Linked DNA regions of Homo sapiens: region 2 is linked to region 1. Evidence: promoter capture Hi-C in 16 types of primary human blood cells and fetal thymus (Javierre and others, 2016). All regions are on one chromosome and are shown on one strand. The core of a region is centred on a gene start or on the middle of the fragment in contact, and the rest is flanking DNA. Distances in the headings are between cores, read along the strand shown. Region 1 holds the start of ALX4 (ALX homeobox 4). Region 2 overlaps CD82 (CD82 molecule).

Evidence for each region. Contacts are between HindIII fragments. The CHiCAGO score rates a contact against its expected background, and 5 or more counts as called.
Region 2: a fragment that was not itself captured here is called in contact with the fragment with the promoter of ALX4 in region 1 in 2 of 17 cell types (total B cells and naive B cells); the score reaches 5.7 in total B cells.

Annotation. Positions count from the first base shown.
Region 1 is chr11:44,307,875-44,313,499 of GRCh38, forward strand. ALX4 (ALX homeobox 4) reads right to left here and starts at 2,265. Exons shown (of 4, transcript NM_021926.4): 1 at 1,723-2,265. The coding sequence starts at 2,188. RefSeq lists an enhancer at 2,243-3,171. The HindIII fragment of the contact is 7,283 bases long and covers 1-3,189 here.
Region 2 is chr11:44,619,394-44,625,024 of GRCh38, forward strand. CD82 (CD82 molecule) reads left to right here. Exons shown (of 10, transcript NM_002231.4): 10 at 1-965. Among named protein-coding and RNA genes, the nearest start is that of CD82-AS1, 17 kb to the left of the region's middle. The HindIII fragment of the contact is 4,125 bases long and covers 1,732-5,631 here.

The sequences.
Region 1 (5,625 bases), core at 1,015-3,514:
TGTGGAGCTGTGGGTGTCCGTGTGTGGAGCTGTGGGTGTCTGTGTGTGGAGCAGTGGGTGTCTGTGTGTGGAACTGTGTGTGCCTGCATGTGGAGCTGTGGGTGTCTGTGTGTGGAGCCTTGGGGGTCTGTGATCTGAATGCCTGATCTCATTCCAACTGGAGGTGAAGAGGAAGGTGGAGGAAGTGGGGAAGGGCCACTGAATCTTTCTAAATCTTCTCTCAGTTCTGTCCTATGGGTTTGGGAGTATGTGGCTCATTCGAGGCCACATGGGCATGTGTTCTTGGGGTATGACCACATCGGCTCCTAAAGAAGATGCTCTCTGCGTGTGTGTGTGTAGAGTGCAATTGTAGACAAGCATATGACTGTGAATGTTTGTCAGCAGCCATCTATGAACTAGTTCTGCGCCTGTGAAAGAAGGAACCTGAATACGAGAAAATATCTGCCATCGGCTGTTTTCCCAAAGTTATTCTAGCCACCAAGGCCTCCGCCGTGTCCCAGCCTCTGTCCCCAGGCCTAGTGCCTCTCCATCAGCCTGGATCAGGGCAAATTCCCTGCCCCCAACTCTTCCCACCAGGGCCGGACCTGAAGGCCAAGGCCTCCGGGTATGTGCTCAGGACTCCTGGCCCAGAGAAGGTTTTTCCCTTTCTGCGTCTTTGCTTCCCCTTCCGCTTTGGGGTTCAGGAACCCCGATTCTCTGGAAGAAGAGAAGGCCTAGGCTACTGAGCTGCTCTGGCTAGAGACGTCCTTGAGTGTCTCTCTCTCCCGGGCAATGGTGGCTGTGCTCTGGGGGGCCCAGGCCTGCCTCCTGTGGCTGCGTTCAAGGCAGCTTGGAGGTCATTTAGGCCAGCTCCCCCGGGTTCCCCGTGGGCTCAAATCAGGACCCAGACCCTTCTCTCTTGCCACAGCTCTGGGCCACCTGGGACTCGGGACTTCCTGTCTCCCTTCCTACTCTGTCCTAAACCATTGTTCAGAGGCCTGCCGCCTCCAAGAATCGCCGAGGGAGAAGCTCCAGGGGAACTGGCCTGCCCGCATCCCCACTGCCAGTAGCGCTCAGGGTCCCAGGACTCGGGTCTTGCCAGACCACAGTGTCCCCTGGGACCCTAGGGTCTCTGGCTCCGCACTGTGTTGCGCCAGTGCGCCTGGATTTCCCGTGAGCTTTCGGCCAACCACGCTCCGGGCTTCCCGCCTGGCTCCGCACCTGCGGCGCTCTCACCTGCGGCGGCGCCGCCCGAGGAGCCTCCCAGCCGGCGAGGAGCGAGGCTTCTGCAGTCCTGCTGTCCCGCAGCCCCGCAGCCCCGCAGCCTCGCAGCCCCGCAGCCCCGCAGCCCCGCAGCCCCGCAGCCCCGCAGCCCAGCGCCAGAGCGCTGCGCGGAGACTCCTTGCCGCCGCACGCCCTGGGCCGGTAAGAAGCATCCGCTTCAAATCCCGCCCAGCGGGCAGCGCAAAGCGAGCGGTTTGGGGAAATGCCGAAGGGACCGGGAAAAACAAACTCCAAGTCGAGTTTAACAGCCGAAACGCTCCGTGCCTAGGCCGGCGGACAAGAAGGAGACAGAACAGATCCCTTGGCTCCCTCGCAGCGATCGATCCCGTTTACCGACCAGAGTCACCACCCCGCCCCCAGCCCGCCAACTCATACCTCCCGCAAGCCACCAGTTTCAAGGGATGCGGAAGCCAAGCACCCCGTGGTCCCCAGCACCAGGTGACCCGCACGTGCACTCACCGTAGCAGGGAACCTGCAAGGCCGCGCTGTGGCCGCTGCTGCCTTCCTGGAGTTTGAGGCTGCCGTCCGGGGGCGTCTTGCAGGCGCCTCGCTGCAAGTAAAGATGCGGTTGCGCGGGCGGCTGGGGCTGCGGCTGCTGCTGCTGCGGCTGCGGCTGCGGCGGCGGCTGGGGCTGCGGGGTCGACGGCTGGGGCTGGAACTTGTTAAAGGAGCCCCGCGCCCCAGCTCCACTCTCCAGGGGTGTCGCCAGGTCCTGCTGCCCAGCGCCGTAACGGGCCCGGCTCTTGGCGTCCCCGAATCCCTGTGCTTTGGCGGCGGCCGACAGGAAAGTTGTGCCGAACTTGTCGCCTCCGGGAAATGCCCTAAAAGGCGACGAGCCCTCCCGACTCTGCGACACCGGGCTGTAGTAGGCGTCCATGGCAGCGGCCGGCGACTCGCAGTAAGAGACGCAAGTCTCAGCATTCATGCCTGGCTTGCGCAGGCGGCGGGCGGGGACGCGAGCGAGGGCGCGAGGACGCCACCGCGCGCCTTGGCTGGGAGTTTGGGGAGGCGAGGAGGCTGTGGCTGTGCACTCCTTGCCCGGCCTGCTCGCTCTCCCTCCTCCCCTCCACGCCGGCCTCTCTCTCTCTCCCCCTCTTCTTTCTCTGTCTCTCTCCTCTCTCTCCCTCCTCTCTCTCTCTTCCCCTCCCTCCCCCCCCCTTCCTCTCTCTCTCCCTCTCTCTCTTTCCTCCCTCCCCACAGCTAGCCGAGGGAAAGAACGGAGGGCAGTAAAAAGATTCAGATGTTTCGGAAAGTTGACCAGATCTCCCAAACCCTCTTAAGGTTTTGCAGCGGAAAAAAAAAATAAGTAAATTTTTTTCCCTGCCTTGCTTCTTCCTTTCCCCCTCTCTCGTCCCCTCCTCCTCTCTCCTTCCACTGGCCCCTGCCCCCTCCTCTCCACTCTTAAGGAGATGCTACTAACTCGCTAGCGGGGATTCAACCCGGAGGCGCCCGAGGGCTTTTCCGATTCTAGGCGGGGCTGGGGAGATGCCAGGATCCCCAGGGCTCCCGAGGCTAGGCTGAGAATTGGCGGGGTGTCGGAGCTTTGCCTTAGGGCAAAGGGAAATGCAAATTTTAATGACAGGTTAAAAAAAAGCCCCCCAAAATAAACCTAACAGGTTTTGACATTCGAAGCCAGGGGGACCACGGGCCTGCGGATGCAAGCGAGTCCTACGGACTCCTGCGCGCGAGCTCGCGGGCGCCGCTGCGGGCCTTCCCGCTGGCACCTTTTCCTAGGTTTCCAACCTTCCTCCCCATTCCCGTTCCTACGGGAGATTAACACACACACAAGCCTTCGTCGTCCAGTGCATGGTCACTTGCACGTCTTGTTAACTATTTCCCTCTGCTGTAAGGGCGCTGGGCTGGGATGTAGCGGAATCTGTGCTCCCTCAAGCCCTGGAGAAGCCCTGGGCTGGGCCCGGCTTCAGAAGCTTTAGAGCGCTGCCCTCTGCGCTCCCGTCTAGAGGCCGCACCGTTCACGCCCCACGTCTGCGCCCAGGCGAGGGGATTTCCTGCCAGGCGAAGTACAGAGAGCGGACTCTGGAGACCCCCTGACCTTGCCCGATAGTCGCGCTGTCACCTGTTCACTCCTTGGGGTCAGGGGTCGGGGAGAGGGGTGAGACCGTCTCTTCCCTTTCTGGCCTCACTGCCCCCGACTGTAAAACGAACTGCTTGGTTTTGATAGGTTGTGGTTTCACCACCACTGCGAGCCTCAAGGCCCCTGGCACCGCCACAGCAAGGGAAAAAACTTTGCGCGTGCAGCCCCTCGATTTCGCTTCATGACAACCGTGCTAGAGATTGGCGCCCCCAATTTTCTGATGAGCTAACGGAGGCTCAGAGAGGGGCGGCCACCTGGTCCAGGTCACACAGCTGGGAAATAGCCGTCGCGCCCTGGAACCTCTGCTCAGGCTAGTCCCTCCACCGACCTGGAAGGCCGTGCGGACAGCGTAGATGCAGAGGGGAAACTGGCCCCCGGCTGTGGAATGGTTCAAGTTGAAGGAGACCAGCGAGAGCAGCCTTCCTTAAACCGCTGAGAAAATCGTTAAGCGAGAACGTACCTCTAGGGAGTCTGGGAGTAGGGTGAGAGGTAAAAGTGCAAGGTAAAATTAAAGAGGGCCTGAGCACCGTGAACCAAGGAATGTGGGTCAGATGTCAACTTTCTGCATCTAAGGTCTCCCAAAGAAAAAATATACCTGGGGGGTCGCGCTTCTGCTCCCAATCTCATCTGGGCTAATTCTTACCCCCACCCTACCCCCTTAGTATCTCTGGTCCTTGCTCCGCCGCCGACCGCGCGATCCCACATCTGGTTTCCATCGCCGGCTTACCTTGAAGTGCTCGTTAATAAAGATATTCCGCAAACCAAGCCAGGAGCGCGCAGGCTCCAGCCGCCCCCCACTCCATGCCCAATGGGAACCGCGCCTCACTGGCCCGCAGACCTAAGCCACTTGAGAGTCCTTTATTTATTGAGCTCCTGTTGTGCCAACAATCTGGCAATACAAGGCTTATCATACCCATTTTGCATATGGGTAGACTGAGACTCAACCAAAATAATTTTCCAGTTAGCAAAAAGCGGAGTGCTCCTGCCATCATCCTAAATGCTCCTGTCCAGCGGTTTCTTCAAGTTCCTAGAACCTGCCAAGGTCTCTAGCCTGTGCACTGTAGCATAGGTGGTTTCCCCTACCTGGAATTCCCTAAACTCATTCCTGCACTTTTGTCTGGCTAATGATTCAGAGTTCAGCCTAGAGCATCTTCCTCTAGGAAGACTTCCCGTCTCTCCTAGTTTAAGTTGACGCTTCCGTTTGCCTCATCTCCGTCCCAGATCTCGTGGTTGTCTGGTTGCCTGGCTATGAGTGTATCTCAACCCCACTAGTTGCCCCAGGGCAGCCTCCTACGTGCCTGGCACCCCACAAATATTTGTGGAATAAAAGATTAAACCTGGACCAGGCGCGGTGGCTCACACCTGTAATCCCAGCACTTTAGGAGGCCAAGGAGGATGGATCACAAGGTCAGGAGATCGACACCATCCTGGCTAACACGGTGAAACCCTGTCTCTACTAAAAATACAAAAATTAGCCAGACGTGATGGCAGACGCATGTAGTCCCAGCTACTTGGGAGGCTGAGGCAGGAGAATGGCGTGAACCAGGGAGGCAGAGCTTGCAGTGAGCCGAGTTTGTGCCACTGCACTCCAGCATGGGCGACAGGGCGACAGGGTGAGACTCCGTCTCAAAAAAAAAAATAAATAAATAAAAATAAAATAAAATAAAGATTAAACCTGGGGCTGTAGGACTCTATCACCTCAGTGTATTCCAACTGCTCAGTGCAGCACCAAGTTCTGAGACTCTTTCTTTGGTTTCCCTTAGTCAAGGACAGCTGGTCACCCACCCACCCCCTCTTCAAAAATCAAGTAGCGGAATTAACAGCGTGCTGGACCTTCCTGAGCCTGTGCCTTGAGAGCAGTGAGTTTTCTCACAGCAGGGGCCAGGTCTGTCTTGTTCGCTGTAGGGCTTGGCACTCATAAAATGCTTGTTGAGTGAATGAATGAAAGTGTCCTATGGTTCCCAGGGGCTTAGAGATGCATTTTTTTGTCAAGGAGTTCCAAGCCAGCCGCCTACTCCAGTCTCCTGTGCCCAGCAGCTGCCTGTAGGCACCCAGAAGGTGGTGGCAATACCCCCGCTTCTTTCTCCACCTCCATTCCTGTCTAAAAAATGAGGGAAGGACTATGAGAGGCAAATTGTGGTGGAGAGGGTTGGGGTGGGGATGACAACCCCGAGACAGGAACAATTGCAATTGTACACTCTTCCTAGAACCTCTGAACCAGGCGCACCCAATGCAAAAATTTGCTGTGTTTCATGAAGCATTTTTTG
Region 2 (5,631 bases), core at 2,544-5,043, 310 kb after region 1:
CCTGGCGCAGGTGGGCTGGACTTCTACCTGCCCTCAAGGGTGTGTATATTGTATAGGGGCAACTGTATGAAAAATTGGGGAGGAGGGGGCCGGGCGCGGTGGCTCACGCCTGTAATCCCAGCACTTTGGGAGGCCGAGGCGGGTGGATCACGAGGTCAGGAGATCGAGACCATCCTGGCTAACATGGTGAAACCCCGTCTCTACTAAAAATACAAAAAAAATTTAGCCGGGCGCGGTGGCGGGCACCTGTAGTCCCAGCTACTTGGGAGGCTGAGGCAGGAGAATGGTGTGAACCCGGGAGCGGAGGTTGCAGTGAGCTGAGATCGTGCTACTGCACTCCAGCCTGGGGGACAGAAAGAGACTCCGTCTCAAAAAAAAAAAAAAAAAAAAAAAAAATTGGGGAGGGAAGGGCGTTAGATAAGGCACTCTGGGCTGTCAGGAGACTGCCTACTGGGTGGGTCAACTTATTTCCCACTATGACATTTATATCTTTATTTTTCACAATTATATTGAAGGCAGTGGGAGAGGGGAGAGGGTGGGTTTTACCTGATATTAAGGGGTGGCACCCCTTCCCCAGGCCTGATGCAGGTCCATCTAGACAGCTCAGATTAGCCTAGGCCATGCCCTAGGGACACGGCCTAGGGGAGCTGGGCTGGAGGGGGTCTGCCTGGGTAAGGGGATCTGGCTTGGCCCTGAGCTGCTTAGGGACAGGTGAGTCCTTGGGGGCATGGCACAGAGCTGGTCCTGTATTCTCCAGGGTCCGGAGCTGGCCAGGGGCGGGGAGGAGGAGGATGGCTTCTCCTGGGAGAAGGTGGGCTGGCCTTTCTTGGCAAGCGGTCCTCTGGCCCCTGGGGAGTGGGGTGGGTGAGGCTGTGCCTTGTAGGGGGAGAGGGGAGGGGGCTTTGTGTGCACCATTCTGTAAAACACACTCAAGATTCTAAGACTATTAAAGAGGATTTATAACAGTCTAGTCTGGAATGGTAGGGATGCTGCTTCCTGGGGCAGGGGAGGACCCAGGGCAGAGGGTGTGAGCAGAGTGGCTGGGTCTGCTGGAGACTGCTGGACCCCTCACTGCTCTGCCCTCCCCGCAGGCATCTGCTTCTGCAGCCTGAACCTTAGGACCGTGATGGGCCAGGCTCTGATGGGCCTGCCTGCATGCCGGGGTGCCTGGAGTTTGATTTGGTGCTAAGAGAGGTATAGATTGTACCTCTCAATTCCTGCTTCTGAAACTAGGGTATGGGTGCCCCCAGAAGCTGCACAAAAGTGGGCTGGTGATGGGGGACAGGGAAGCCACAGGATAAACTTGGCATCGCTTTCTAGAGCATCCGTTTCTGCAAAGATTTGTGGAAGGAAACATTTTCATACTAAAGAAATGTGATGGAGTAAGATGTGCAGAATTCAGGGGACTTTTTAAGATGAAATGTGAGACTTTGGGAGGCTGAGGCAGGTGGATCACTTGAGGTCAGGAGTTCGAGTCCAACCTGGCCAACATGGTGAAACCCCATCTCTCCAAAAAATACAGAAATTAGCCGAGTGTGGTGGTGCACGCCTGTAATGCCAGCTACTCAGGAGGCTGAGAAAGGAGAATTGCTTGAACCCGGGGGATGGAGGTTGCAGTGAGCCAAGATTGTGCCACTGCACTTCAGCCTGGGCAACAGAGCGAGAATCTGTCAAAAAAGAAGAAAGGAAGAAAAAGAAAACGACAGAGAGAGAGAGAGAAAAAGAAAAAGAAGCTTGCTCTTACTTGTGCACGGCTCTGACGACTGAGCCCCAGCATGCCCCTTGCCCGGCGTCATGAAGTCCAGAGGGCACTTGCCCCACCTTCTCTCATTTCTGGAGCCAGTGGGGAGGGGAACTCTTGCCTCCCTGCAGTGGGGCCAGGCGGGGCGGCGGCTAGAGTGGTGTTTCAGCAGGGACCACCAGGCGGCGCTGCAGCCTCAGCCTAGGAGCCCGGCAGAGCCCAAAGGTTCCGTGGTTACTCCCAGTTTCGCCAACGCGGGGCCTGCCAGCGTCCCACTCCAGTGGAAGCACTTGTGAAAATGCAGATTCCAAGGCTCAAGGATTCTGGCGCTGCAGATCTAGGGTGGGGACAAGGAATCTGCCTATTTGCACCCCTTTGCGTTGATTCCGGAAGATTTTCAGACCTGGAGTAATGTCTGTCCCAAGCCACGTGATGACCTCTCAGCGAATGTGGCAGCTGAGGAGGTGTCAGCGGTGGGGTCGGCTGTGGGTCCCTCTGTGGCCTTGGTCGCCTCCCTCTGGGATGGGGGCAGGAGAGGAAAATGTCGATGGTTCCACCTGGCCTGACTTCCCTGGCCCCCCACAGCTTCCACCCTCAGGAAGGGTAGCAGAGAGCTGTTGGGTGTCTTTTCATAAATGCTTTCTCACTGGGAGCAAGGGGACCTGAGTTTGAGTCCAGCTGCATCTCCATCTTCCTGTGCGACACGGGGCCTGGCAGGCTGAGGGTGGGCTCAAAGCTGTTTGCAAAATAGAGGACTGAGAAAACGTCAGAAGTTAGCGAAGGGGTGGGCTGCTTCCTCTGACACGTCCATCCTGCCCAGAGCTCACAGCTGGAAGGGGCCAGAGCCAGGATTTGAACCCCACGTATCTGACTTCAAAGACCATCCTCCTGGCTCCACTGGCTCCTGCCCTTCCAGATTTCCCAGAACAGCCCCAGGACGTGTGTAGTGTGAGGCTCTGACCCTCGCTTTTGTGAAATCTGGTCACTGTGAGCTCTGAGCCTGCTGGGTTCCTCATTTCAACCTCCTGGGGAGCACCCAGTTTCAGCAACCCACTTACTCCCAGCCTGTGAGGTTTTGGGAGGGAGGGAACATAGACCCATGTCTAACACTCAGAATCGTCCCTGCAGCCACTAATCTGTCCCATGCCCATCTGGGGCTTCCACACCTTCCAGCTGCCCTCCCTGGGCCCTCTGTGGGCTGCCATCTCTCCTGCCAAGGGCCCTGACAGGCCCAAAGGACTGGCACATGGGTACCATGTGGAGGAGAGTACAAGGGTGCTCCTTGGCAGTGCCCACCCACAGCTCCCTGGGGCAGCCAGGAAGAATGGCTGGAGCAAAGGGTTGCTCTTTGGGCTCCCGTGGGAGGTTAGAGACAGTGCCTAGGATGTGTTCAGGGAGCTGGACTTTGGGGGGCACTGATTGGCATGGCCACTGACCAATAGGTATGGAAGTCAGGCCTGAGCTGGAATGGGATCCTTACGTATGGATTGGCGGGAGGTGCAGGAGCTCTGAGAGATTGAGCTGGGGGGGAATTTTCAACTGGTGTGGAAATATTTCTCCATTTTATTCATAATAACTGGTATGGCTGGCTGGGTGAGTACTGGTGAATGGCAGCCTGATACATGTGCACATACATGCATGCACTCTCTCACACGCACACACTCGAGGCCCTGAAGGCCCCTGAGGGCTCAGTCCATTCCCAGCTGGGAGGAACCCTAGCTCTTCTTCCCTGAGACTAAGCCATGGGTGGCCCGTAGTGAACAGGGAAAGCCAAGTGTCTTCCTGCCTGGCCTTCCCGGGCCTACACTGCAGAGCCCCCTCTGCCGCTGATCACCATCCTGTCTCCTAGCAGAGCTGCCTCCAGCCTCTGCCCCAGATGATCTTCCAGGTGAGCAGGTCCCCCAGGCTGAGAGCAGCCGGGTGGAGGGGCACACTGGTGACGCTGGAGCATCTAGCCAACAGGCATCTCCTGGGCCAGCGCTCCCATCGCCTTTCTCCCCTGCAGAAGGACAGAGACCCAGGTTGCTACGCTGCCTCGGGGCAAATGTCTGGCTGTTCTCTGGGGTCTTTAGAGGCTGTAGGCTAAGGTTTATTCATTTATTCATTCATTCATCCCATGAATACTTAATGGCACAGACTATTTGTGAAGCACAGTTCTAGGATCTTAGGAACACAGCAGTGAACACACACAAACCCCCTGCCCACATGGCACCTGCATTCTGATGAGTGTAGAGACTCTTGCACACAACTGATGCACCAGGACACACGTGCACACACAGCACACGCATGCACACAGCACACCCTGCCACACGTACACAGGTACGTACCAGCACACACTGCCGACTGCTGACAGCACAGTCTGAGCCAAGTGCTGCTGTGGGATCCCTGGGGCCCATCCAAGGCCCCTTCCTGTGGAAGGAAGTAGAATGAACAGCGCGTCGAACAAACAGGAAAGTAGGAGGAAGTGCTCATCGCCCCTGCCACAGTGCAGGAATCAGCCATTGCCCTGGCAATCCCCTTCCCAACTGAAATCAAATAGAATCAGAGCAGCTGCCACTGGACGTGACAGGCTGTGCAACTTCACCTCTCTTAGTCTTATCGGGAAAATGGGGACTCTCATTCCTCACTCCCAGTGCTGTTGTGGGAGCCAAATGCGGTCACGTACACAGTGAGCTCATTCCCCAAGCAGCCCATTCCAGGACTGGCCCCAGCTTCAAGGGGAGGTTTCCCATCCTCTGGGGGATACCTTCCCTGAGTAGGAATGAGGCCCACGGGAGGACTTTGGGCCTTGGTGCCTCCGGGGCAGGGATGGCTGATTGGCCCAAGGGGCTGGGGCTGGGGCAGGTAAGACCTGTACTCAGCCTCTTGCCTAGTGGGAAGGTGAGCAGGTAGGAGGGCCATTAGAGGACATCTGAGCTGTGAGCACCCCGGCCCCCAGCTGTCCCATCTGACATCATTTCCCCAGCACCTGCCTTCTGAGCAAGGGGAATGTCAGGCCCAGAGCCAAGTGCCTCTCCCCAAGTGACCTCAGATGCTTTAAGCAGTAGCCCCTGGGATAGGAGTGGGCTTCCTGCAGGATGCTGGGGGCAGAGGGGCGGCCAGCCAGAACAGCTGGGAGTGCAGAGGGGCTGTGTGGAGGTGGGGAGTGGAAGGAGAGAGCTGGAGAGTCTCCAGCAGCCTCTTGGAGGACTGAGTGGGCGGGAAGGGATGTTAGTGGCAGCTGATAGGAGTGGAGGGGTCCATCCTCTGCCCTTGCATCACACACCTGGGTGAGCCCAGCTTGGGGCTTCCAGGGTGACAGGGGCCCTGTGATCCCAGCACCCAATCCTCTTGGTCCTGGTTCATAGAGGACTCAGGCGCTTGGGGTGGTGTCTGAGTTCTTTCCATGGGGAAGCTGTCGAGGAACCCACTTGGTGGGTCAGTGGGGGTCTGGTAAAATGGAAGGAGAGAGGCCTGTATTAGTCCATTTTCACCCTGCTGATAAAGACATACCCAAGACTGGGCAATTTACAAAAGAAAGGGTTTTAATGGACTCACAGTTCCACGTAGCTGGGGAGGCCTCATAATAATGGAAGAAGGCAAAACGCACGTCTCACATGGTGGTAGACAAGAGAAGACAGAATGAGAGCCAAGCAAAAGGGGTTACCCCTCATAAAACCATCAGATCTCCTGTGACTTATTCACTACCACAAGAACAGTGTGGGAGAAACCGCCCCATGATTCACTTATCTCCCACTGGATCCCTCCCACAACACATGGGAATTATGGGAGTACAATTCAAGATGAGATTTGGGTGGGGACACAGAGCCCAACCATATCAAGGCCCTTCCCCAGAGGGGCAGGCTCTAAACCCAAGGGAGCCCACAGAGGGGAGGAACAGAGTGGGAGTA